Regions from separate parts of the Homo sapiens genome. Here regions 2 and 3 are each linked to region 1. Evidence: promoter capture Hi-C in human tissues and cell types (Jung and others, 2019). All regions are on one chromosome and are shown on one strand. Each heading gives the region's core, a stretch centred on a gene start or on the middle of the fragment in contact. The rest is flanking DNA. Distances are from core to core; before and after follow the strand shown.

Evidence for each region. Contacts are between HindIII fragments. The study calls those that stand out against the background at their distance.
Region 2: a fragment that was not itself captured here is called in contact with the fragment with the promoter of CELSR1 in region 1 in 3 of the 25 tissues and cell types used here (H1 embryonic stem cells, bladder and thymus).
Region 3: a contact is called between a fragment that was not itself captured here and the fragment with the promoter of CELSR1 in region 1, in 1 of the 25 tissues and cell types used here (mesenchymal stem cells).

Annotation. Positions count from the first base shown.
Region 1 is chr22:46,536,188-46,538,887 of GRCh38, reverse strand. It overlaps CELSR1 (cadherin EGF LAG seven-pass G-type receptor 1), which reads left to right and starts at 1,268. Exons shown (of 35, transcript NM_001378328.1): 1 at 1,268-2,700. The coding sequence starts at 1,718. The HindIII fragment of the contact is 25,460 bases long and covers 1-2,700 here.
Region 2 is chr22:46,276,113-46,278,845 of GRCh38, reverse strand. It overlaps TTC38 (tetratricopeptide repeat domain 38), which reads right to left. Exons shown (of 14, transcript NM_017931.4): 6 at 185-260. Among named protein-coding and RNA genes, the nearest start is that of TTC38, 9.5 kb to the right of the region's middle. The HindIII fragment of the contact is 6,479 bases long and covers 1-2,733 here.
Region 3 is chr22:46,255,528-46,258,227 of GRCh38, reverse strand. It overlaps PKDREJ (polycystin family receptor for egg jelly), which reads left to right. Exons shown (of 1, transcript NM_006071.2): 1 at 1-2,565. The coding sequence ends at 1,667. Among named protein-coding and RNA genes, the nearest start is that of PKDREJ, 6.5 kb to the left of the region's middle. The HindIII fragment of the contact is 5,387 bases long and covers 1-2,700 here.

The DNA of each region.
Region 1 (2,700 bases), core at 19-2,518:
CTCAGAGATTTGGCTGCAGGATCCGACCCTCCCTTGCCAAAAAGACCCGTTCTAGGGGTGACTGCGCATTACTCCCACCCCCACCGCTCCGACCGGCCCCAGGAGAAGCCCTTCTAGGAGAGAAGAGGCGACCCCCACCTACCGTCCCCGACCACTGGGAGGCCTAAGGGCTGCACTGGACTCCGGCGCCCCGAGCGCCACCAAGGGAGTGCGCGCCCTTCCCAGCCGCTGGTGGCACAGTCCCAAAGCCCCGCCCATGCGGGGGGTCGCCAAGTCCTAAGCCTCCACCCCCTTTATCCCTGTGCCCCATCCGGAGGCAGGTGTACCCGTCACGCAAACCTAAAGCTGCCCCCGGCCCCCCGTGGTTCCCCGCAGGAGGCGGGGGTGTGTGTCACTTTTCTGAAAGCTCTAAGGTCTCTGCCCCCCGCCCCCCGCTGTCCTCCGTAGGAGGCTGGGCAGGGGCTGTGGCACAGCTCTAAATCCCTGCGGGTGCTTGCTTGCCCCAGGCAGCTTCCAGGACCCGCAGCCCCCCGCCTTCCCCGCAACCCGCTTCGGGAGGAGCCGGACGCTCGGGGATTCCGCGATGCGTCCGCGAACGCTCGGGTCGGGCCGCACGCGGGAGATGAGCGCGCCTCCGCCGTCCTCTCCAAATCCCTTATGTCAACCGGGGTTTTCTTCTTTCATTTAAAAGTTGCGCTTTAAACCAAGTGGGACGCAGATCCGGTAGCTGCCTATTGGGCTTCAAAGTCCAGGGAGTTTTAGTCGGGGTGAAGCATTTTAGCCTCCGTGCGTCTTGCTGTAAAATGGGTAACCCTCCTCGACAGCCTCCGCAGTCCTTAATGGGTGGGGGGGGGCTCCCCGGCCTCTCGGCCCCAGTCCTCCGCCCCCGGGTCCTACCCGCGCGGCACTCCTGGCGGCGGTCTCCGTGGATCTGTTCTGCCGGGGTGGGGAGCCAGGCTCTGAGCCGCGGCCCCGAGCCCGAGGTGCGGAGCCACCGCCCCACGGGTAGCGGCCACCGGGGGCCCCAGCCCCACCTTTCCCGGCCCTGTTGCCTCGGCCCCGCCCCACCGGGAGGCTGGGTGGGGAGGCCTCCGGGGAGTAGGGCCCCAGTCCCCGTCCCGGCCGCGCCCTCGCGTCTCCATAGCGATCCTCTCGGCGCGCACCTCCGAGCCGGCTCCCCCCGGGGCCGAACAATACGCCGCTGGGCCGGGGGCGGGGCGGGGCCGGGCCGGGGGCGGGGAGAGCGCGGGCGGAGTGGGCGCGGGCCAAGCGCACCGCCCAGGCAGCAGCCGGCCGCCGGGGTCTGCGCGGCGCGGAGCTGCCCAGCCCGCTCCGGGAACTCAGCCCCCGCCCCGCGCCGGGCCCGCCCCGCTTCCCACGCCCGTCCGGCCGAGCCCGCGCCGGAGCCACCTGGAGCCGCCTGGAGCCGCCGCCGCCGCCGCAGGTTGATGCGCGGCGCCCTCCCGGGACGCGCGGAGGAGCCATCTTGAAACCAACTTCGCAAACTTTCGCAAAGTGCTCTCGAAGTGGAAGCTGCGGGGGAGGCCGGGCGCGTGGTCCCCACAGTCCCCGCCAGGGCCCCCGGGGAGGCGGGACGCGGACCGCCCCGAGGGCCGGGCGCCCGGGAGCCGCTCCCCGGCCTCGCCGGGTGGATGCGGAGGCGCGCCGGGTGCATGGATTGTGTTCGGGCGCCCGGCTCGGGCTCGGGCTCCGGGCCATGGCGCCGCCGCCGCCGCCCGTGCTGCCCGTGCTGCTGCTCCTGGCCGCCGCCGCCGCCCTGCCGGCGATGGGGCTGCGAGCGGCCGCCTGGGAGCCGCGCGTACCCGGCGGGACCCGCGCCTTCGCCCTCCGGCCCGGCTGTACCTACGCGGTGGGCGCCGCTTGCACGCCCCGGGCGCCGCGGGAGCTGCTGGACGTGGGCCGCGATGGGCGGCTGGCAGGACGTCGGCGCGTCTCGGGCGCGGGGCGCCCGCTGCCGCTGCAAGTCCGCTTGGTGGCCCGCAGTGCCCCGACGGCGCTGAGCCGCCGCCTGCGGGCGCGCACGCACCTTCCCGGCTGCGGAGCCCGTGCCCGGCTCTGCGGAACCGGTGCCCGGCTCTGCGGGGCGCTCTGCTTCCCCGTCCCCGGCGGCTGCGCGGCCGCGCAGCATTCGGCGCTCGCAGCTCCGACCACCTTACCCGCCTGCCGCTGCCCGCCGCGCCCCAGGCCCCGCTGTCCCGGCCGTCCCATCTGCCTGCCGCCGGGCGGCTCGGTCCGCCTGCGTCTGCTGTGCGCCCTGCGGCGCGCGGCTGGCGCCGTCCGGGTGGGACTGGCGCTGGAGGCCGCCACCGCGGGGACGCCCTCCGCGTCGCCATCCCCATCGCCGCCCCTGCCGCCGAACTTGCCCGAAGCCCGGGCGGGGCCGGCGCGACGGGCCCGGCGGGGCACGAGCGGCAGAGGGAGCCTGAAGTTTCCGATGCCCAACTACCAGGTGGCGTTGTTTGAGAACGAACCGGCGGGCACCCTCATCCTCCAGCTGCACGCGCACTACACCATCGAGGGCGAGGAGGAGCGCGTGAGCTATTACATGGAGGGGCTGTTCGACGAGCGCTCCCGGGGCTACTTCCGAATCGACTCTGCCACGGGCGCCGTGAGCACGGACAGCGTACTGGACCGCGAGACCAAGGAGACGCACGTCCTCAGGGTGAAAGCCGTGGACTA
Region 2 (2,733 bases), core at 130-2,629, 260 kb after region 1:
GTGAATGACAGCCCCTGGCGGGCGGCAGCTGCTCACACTAACATGAGCTCCCCAGTCTCTCTGAGGAAGTGAGACCAGGGATGGGGTTCGCCGGGGTCACACACGAATGGTGCCCCTCATATGCCCTGGTCCAGCCAACGGCTACTCCCTGAGGGGTCAGGCACCTTAGGAAGGACCCACTTACCTCTTTGGCGAGTTTTTCTGCCTGGTCGTAGAAGTTGGTTTCCATCAAGCCAAAAGAGTAGATGCCTTTCACATAGCTAAAAACAGAAAAAAAGATCTCAGAATACAAAATGATGGATGGGTAGCAGGTTGAACTGTGTCCCCGCAAAGATACACTGAGGTCCTAACTGCCAGCACTGGGAATGTGACCTTTTTTGGAAATAGGGTCTTTGCAGAGGTAATAAGTTTAGAGGAGGTCATACGGGATTAGGGTGGGCCCTAACGCAATGACTGGTGTCCTTACAAGAGGGCCGTGTGAAGACACAGATGCCGAGGGAAGGCGGCAGGTAAAGACCAAGGCAGAGTGATACAGCTGCGAGCCAAGGGACTTCAAGGAACTCTGGGCACCACCAGAAATTGGAAGAGGCAGGAAGGACCCACCCCTGAGGCTCTGAGGGCACTGCCCTTGCTGACACCTTAGATGGGACTCTTGGCCCTCAAAGCTGTGAGTACCTGTCTGCTGCTCCAAACCACCCAGTTTGCAGCCCTTCGCTACAGCAACCGCAGGAGACTGATGCAACCTCCAACCCCACGCCAAGCTCTGTGCTTGTCAGCAATTCCATGCTTCTGACTGGTGAGGGGCAAGGTGAACATTACATCCGCACAATCATCCCCAAGCCCAGCACGGAGAGCGGCCCTGCTCCTCAATTAGCATCCCACCTTCTAAGAATCAACACGGGTCTCCACTGAGAGTAACAAGGGTCTCCTCCCGCTCCTGTCTGCATGGTGACATCCACCCAGAGGCATGACCCAGGGGCACCTCCCTGGGAAGCCTCCGTGACCTGTGGGCTGTCAACAGCTCCTCCTTGACTTCTGCAGTGCTGTACACAGTCCCCTGCCCGGCCTGGAATGCACTCAGTGAATGGCCGGGTCCTCCCCAGACCTGGAGCTCCCACAGGCTGGGACCTGTCTGTCCAACTCAGCCTCAGCCCAGGCCCAGCCCAGGATGGGCTAGAAGACACTGCTGAATAATTGCACGCTTCCAATCTCTCTCTTTTTTTTTTTTTTTTTTTTTTTTGGAGACAGAGTCTCGCTCTGTTGCCCAGGCTGGAGTGCAGTGGCACAATCTCAGCTCACTGCAACCTCCGCCTCCTGAGTTCAAGCAATTCTCCTTCCTCAGTCTCCTGAGTAGCTGGGATTACAGGCACATGCCACCTCGCCCAGCTAATTTTGGTATTTTTAGTAGAGACGGGGTTTCACCATGTTGGCCAGGCTGGCCTCAAACTCCTGACCTCAGGTGATCCACCCGCCTCGGCCTCCCAAAGTGCTGGGATTCCAGGCATGAGCCATTGCGTCCCGCCCACACTTCCAATCTCATCTGCAACTGCGCACCCGAGTATCTAGGGTGGTCACACATGAAACAAGTTTTCTTTCCTGTGGTTTCTCGGGGTTAAGTGAAAACAAAATAGGGCAATAGGGCTTCTGTTTGAGACTAAGATGTTAGCTTCATTACTTTGCAAGAAGACTGATTCTAGCTTTTGTTATTCATTGAAGCAATGTTCTTAAGCACTGGCTTCCAGAGTTATCTTTAAAATGTATGTGTGTGTGTGTGTGTGTGTGTGTGTGTGTGTGTGTGTATGTATATATATGTATTGTTTACTGGGGTCATTTAATCCTCAACACTTAAGCTATTTATTGTATGTTTGCTGTGTGTCAGGTACTATTAGGTTTCATGACGGTTAATTTTTATCTGTCAATTTGGCTGGCCCGTGGTGCTCAGCTGTTTGGCGAAACACCAGTCTAGGTGTTGCGGTGAAAGTATTTTTTATATATATATATGTTTATATATATATATATATTTAATATATATATTTTAATATATAATTTTTAATATATATTTTAATATATATTTAATATATATTTTTAATATATGTATTTTATATATATTTTTTTAATATATATATTTTTAATATATATATTCTTTTAGATACAGAGTCTTGCTCTGCTGCCCAGGCTGAGTGCAGTGGCATGATCGCCAGCTCACTGCAGCCTCAAACTCCTGGGCTCAAGGGAACCTCCCGCCACAGCCTCCTGAGTAGCCGGAACTACAGGCACATGCCACCATGCCTGGCTAACTTTTTTAATTTATTTTTTCTTTTTGTAGAGACAGAGTCTTGCCATGTTGACCAAGCTTATCTCAAACTCCTGGGCTCAAGCAATCCTACCGCCTCAGCTTCCCAAACAGCTGGGATTACAGGCATAAGCCACTGTGCCCAGTCTCGTGAAGGTATTTCTAGATGCGATTTGAGTAAAGCAGATTACCCTCCATGTGGGTGGGCCTCATCCAATCAGTTAAAGGCCTTAAGAGAAAGACGGAGGCCCCTAGAAGAAGAAATTCTGCCTGCAGACTGCCTCCAGATGTAAGACTAATGCTGACTCCTGCAGCGATTTCCAGCTTGCTGCCCTGCCCTACAGATTTTGAACTTGCCAGCCCTCACACTCACATGAGCCAATTCCTTAAAATAAATCTCCATCTCTCTCTCTGTCTCAGAGCTCTCTGGGCTTCTCTGG
Region 3 (2,700 bases), core at 76-2,575, 280 kb after region 1:
GAAAGAAGAGGATCAAGAGAAGAGCACTCCTGTTTCTGAGTTACATTCTAACTCACTTTATCTTTCTAGCCCTTCTGTTGATCCTTATCGTCTTACTACGTCACACTGACTGCTTTTACTATAACCAGTTTATTCGTGATCGGTTCTCTATGGATCTTGCTACTGTGACTAAGCTGGAAGACATCTATAGATGGCTAAACAGCGTGCTGTTGCCTTTGTTACACAATGACCTGAATCCAACATTTCTTCCTGAAAGCTCGTCTAAAATCCTTGGCCTTCCATTGATGAGGCAAGTGAGAGCAAAATCTAGTGAAAAAATGTGTCTACCTGCCGAAAAGTTTGTGCAAAACAGCATCAGAAGAGAAATTCATTGTCACCCCAAATATGGCATTGACCCAGAAGACACAAAAAACTATTCTGGCTTTTGGAATGAAGTTGATAAGCAGGCTATAGATGAGAGTACCAATGGATTTACTTATAAGCCTCAAGGAACGCAATGGCTATATTATTCCTATGGACTACTACACACCTATGGATCTGGAGGATATGCACTCTATTTTTTTCCAGAACAGCAGCGGTTTAATTCCACACTGAGGCTCAAAGAACTTCAAGAAAGCAATTGGCTGGATGAGAAGACATGGGCTGTGGTTTTGGAATTAACAACTTTTAATCCAGATATAAATCTGTTCTGTAGCATTTCGGTCATATTTGAAGTCTCTCAGTTAGGAGTTGTCAACACAAGCATATCTCTGCACTCTTTTTCACTTGCTGATTTTGACAGAAAAGCTTCAGCAGAAATCTACTTGTATGTGGCCATTCTCATTTTTTTCTTAGCCTACGTTGTTGATGAGGGTTGTATCATTATGCAAGAAAGAGCCTCCTATGTGAGAAGTGTGTATAATTTGCTCAACTTTGCTTTAAAGTGCATATTTACTGTGTTGATTGTGCTCTTTCTCAGGAAACATTTCCTGGCCACTGGCATAATTCGGTTTTACTTGTCGAACCCAGAAGACTTCATTCCCTTTCATGCAGTTTCTCAGGTAGATCACATTATGAGGATAATTTTGGGTTTCCTGTTATTTCTGACAATTTTGAAGACCCTCAGGTATTCCAGATTCTTCTACGATGTGCGCCTGGCTCAGAGGGCCATCCAGGCTGCCCTCCCTGGCATCTGCCACATGGCATTTGTTGTGTCCGTGTATTTCTTCGTATACATGGCTTTTGGTTACCTGGTGTTTGGTCAGCATGAATGGAACTACAGTAACTTGATTCATTCCACTCAGACAGTATTTTCCTATTGTGTCTCAGCTTTCCAGAACACTGAATTTTCCAATAACAGGATTCTGGGGGTCCTGTTCCTCTCATCTTTCATGCTGGTGATGATCTGCGTCTTGATCAACTTATTTCAGGCTGTAATTCTGTCTGCATATGAGGAAATGAAGCAGCCCGTGTATGAGGAGCCATCGGATGAAGTGGAAGCAATGACCTATTTGTGCCGTAAGCTGAGAACCATGTTCAGCTTTCTGACCTCGCAATCTAAGGCCAAAGATGAGCCTGAGTTCTTTATTGACATGCTGTATGGGCAGCCAGAGAAGAACAGCCACCGTTATCTGGGGCTGAAGACCAGAAACATCAACGGGAAGAAAATGGTTTACCTTGTTGTTTGATGAATGATGGTTTCATGAGTCACAAGCAAGCGTTCCCCCAACTGCTGAGTCTGTGGGATTAAGGGGATTAGGGAGTGTCAGTGGCCTAGTCATGCTTTCTACTCATGTCCTTCACAAGGCACATCCCCTACATTTGGAAGAATCCCCAATCTTGTCCTCTGCTCTTGGGAGTGTAAAAGTTGGGAGTGTAGTGTAGCATCTGGGGAGACAGCAGGATCACAGTGTGGGATTCCTGGACTGATTTCCCTTTAGAGGGGAGTTATGTGACTCCCCGTACAAGGGCAACCCTGTTTCTTTGGTGCCTGCAGTTTAGAGAAGGCAGAGCCACTGGTTTTGAGAACCAGATTTGAGAGAGGGACCTGGCCAGGGTGGAGCATTGTCTGGGTGTTTCTGCGCTTGACCCATGCTGGAAGCTAATGGCCTGTTGCTCCTGACAGAGCCCCAAACTCCTCGGCCTCACTGGGAGGCCCCTTTGTAGACCAGGGCTCCCCTCCTCTTGTTCCCCCTGGGCTTAGGGCCTCGTGGGGAGTTCCAGGACTTGCTTCATGCTTGAGAATGCAGATGTGGTGCTTCTCATTTATTCTTAAAGCTACTGGTAGTTAAAGTAAAATTCAGTAACATTTTCTGACCAAGAGACATGTTTTGTTAAACAACAAAAAGGTACATATGGGTTCACATTGAAATATGTCTATATGCTGAATATAGCAACATATGCATCTAAGATTTGGGCATTTGGTTATTAATAGCGTGCTGGACTATTCAGGAATAAGGAAAATGTGGTTTATCACTTAAGAGAAACAAGGGCTGGTAGCTGTACTATTTTCACTCAGAAGCATGTTCATTTATGTAGATGCCACTTTAAGCTTTATCAGAATTAAATGTGAGATTTCTTCTTTGAGCCTTGCAGTGATTTCTGTGTGAGGGGCATATACACACATAGCTGCTGCCCTCAAAGTGGAGTCCCAGAAAAGGGGGACAACCAAATGAGATGGGTGGCTGCTTTATACACACCTCGGTGTCCATCATCCTCAGC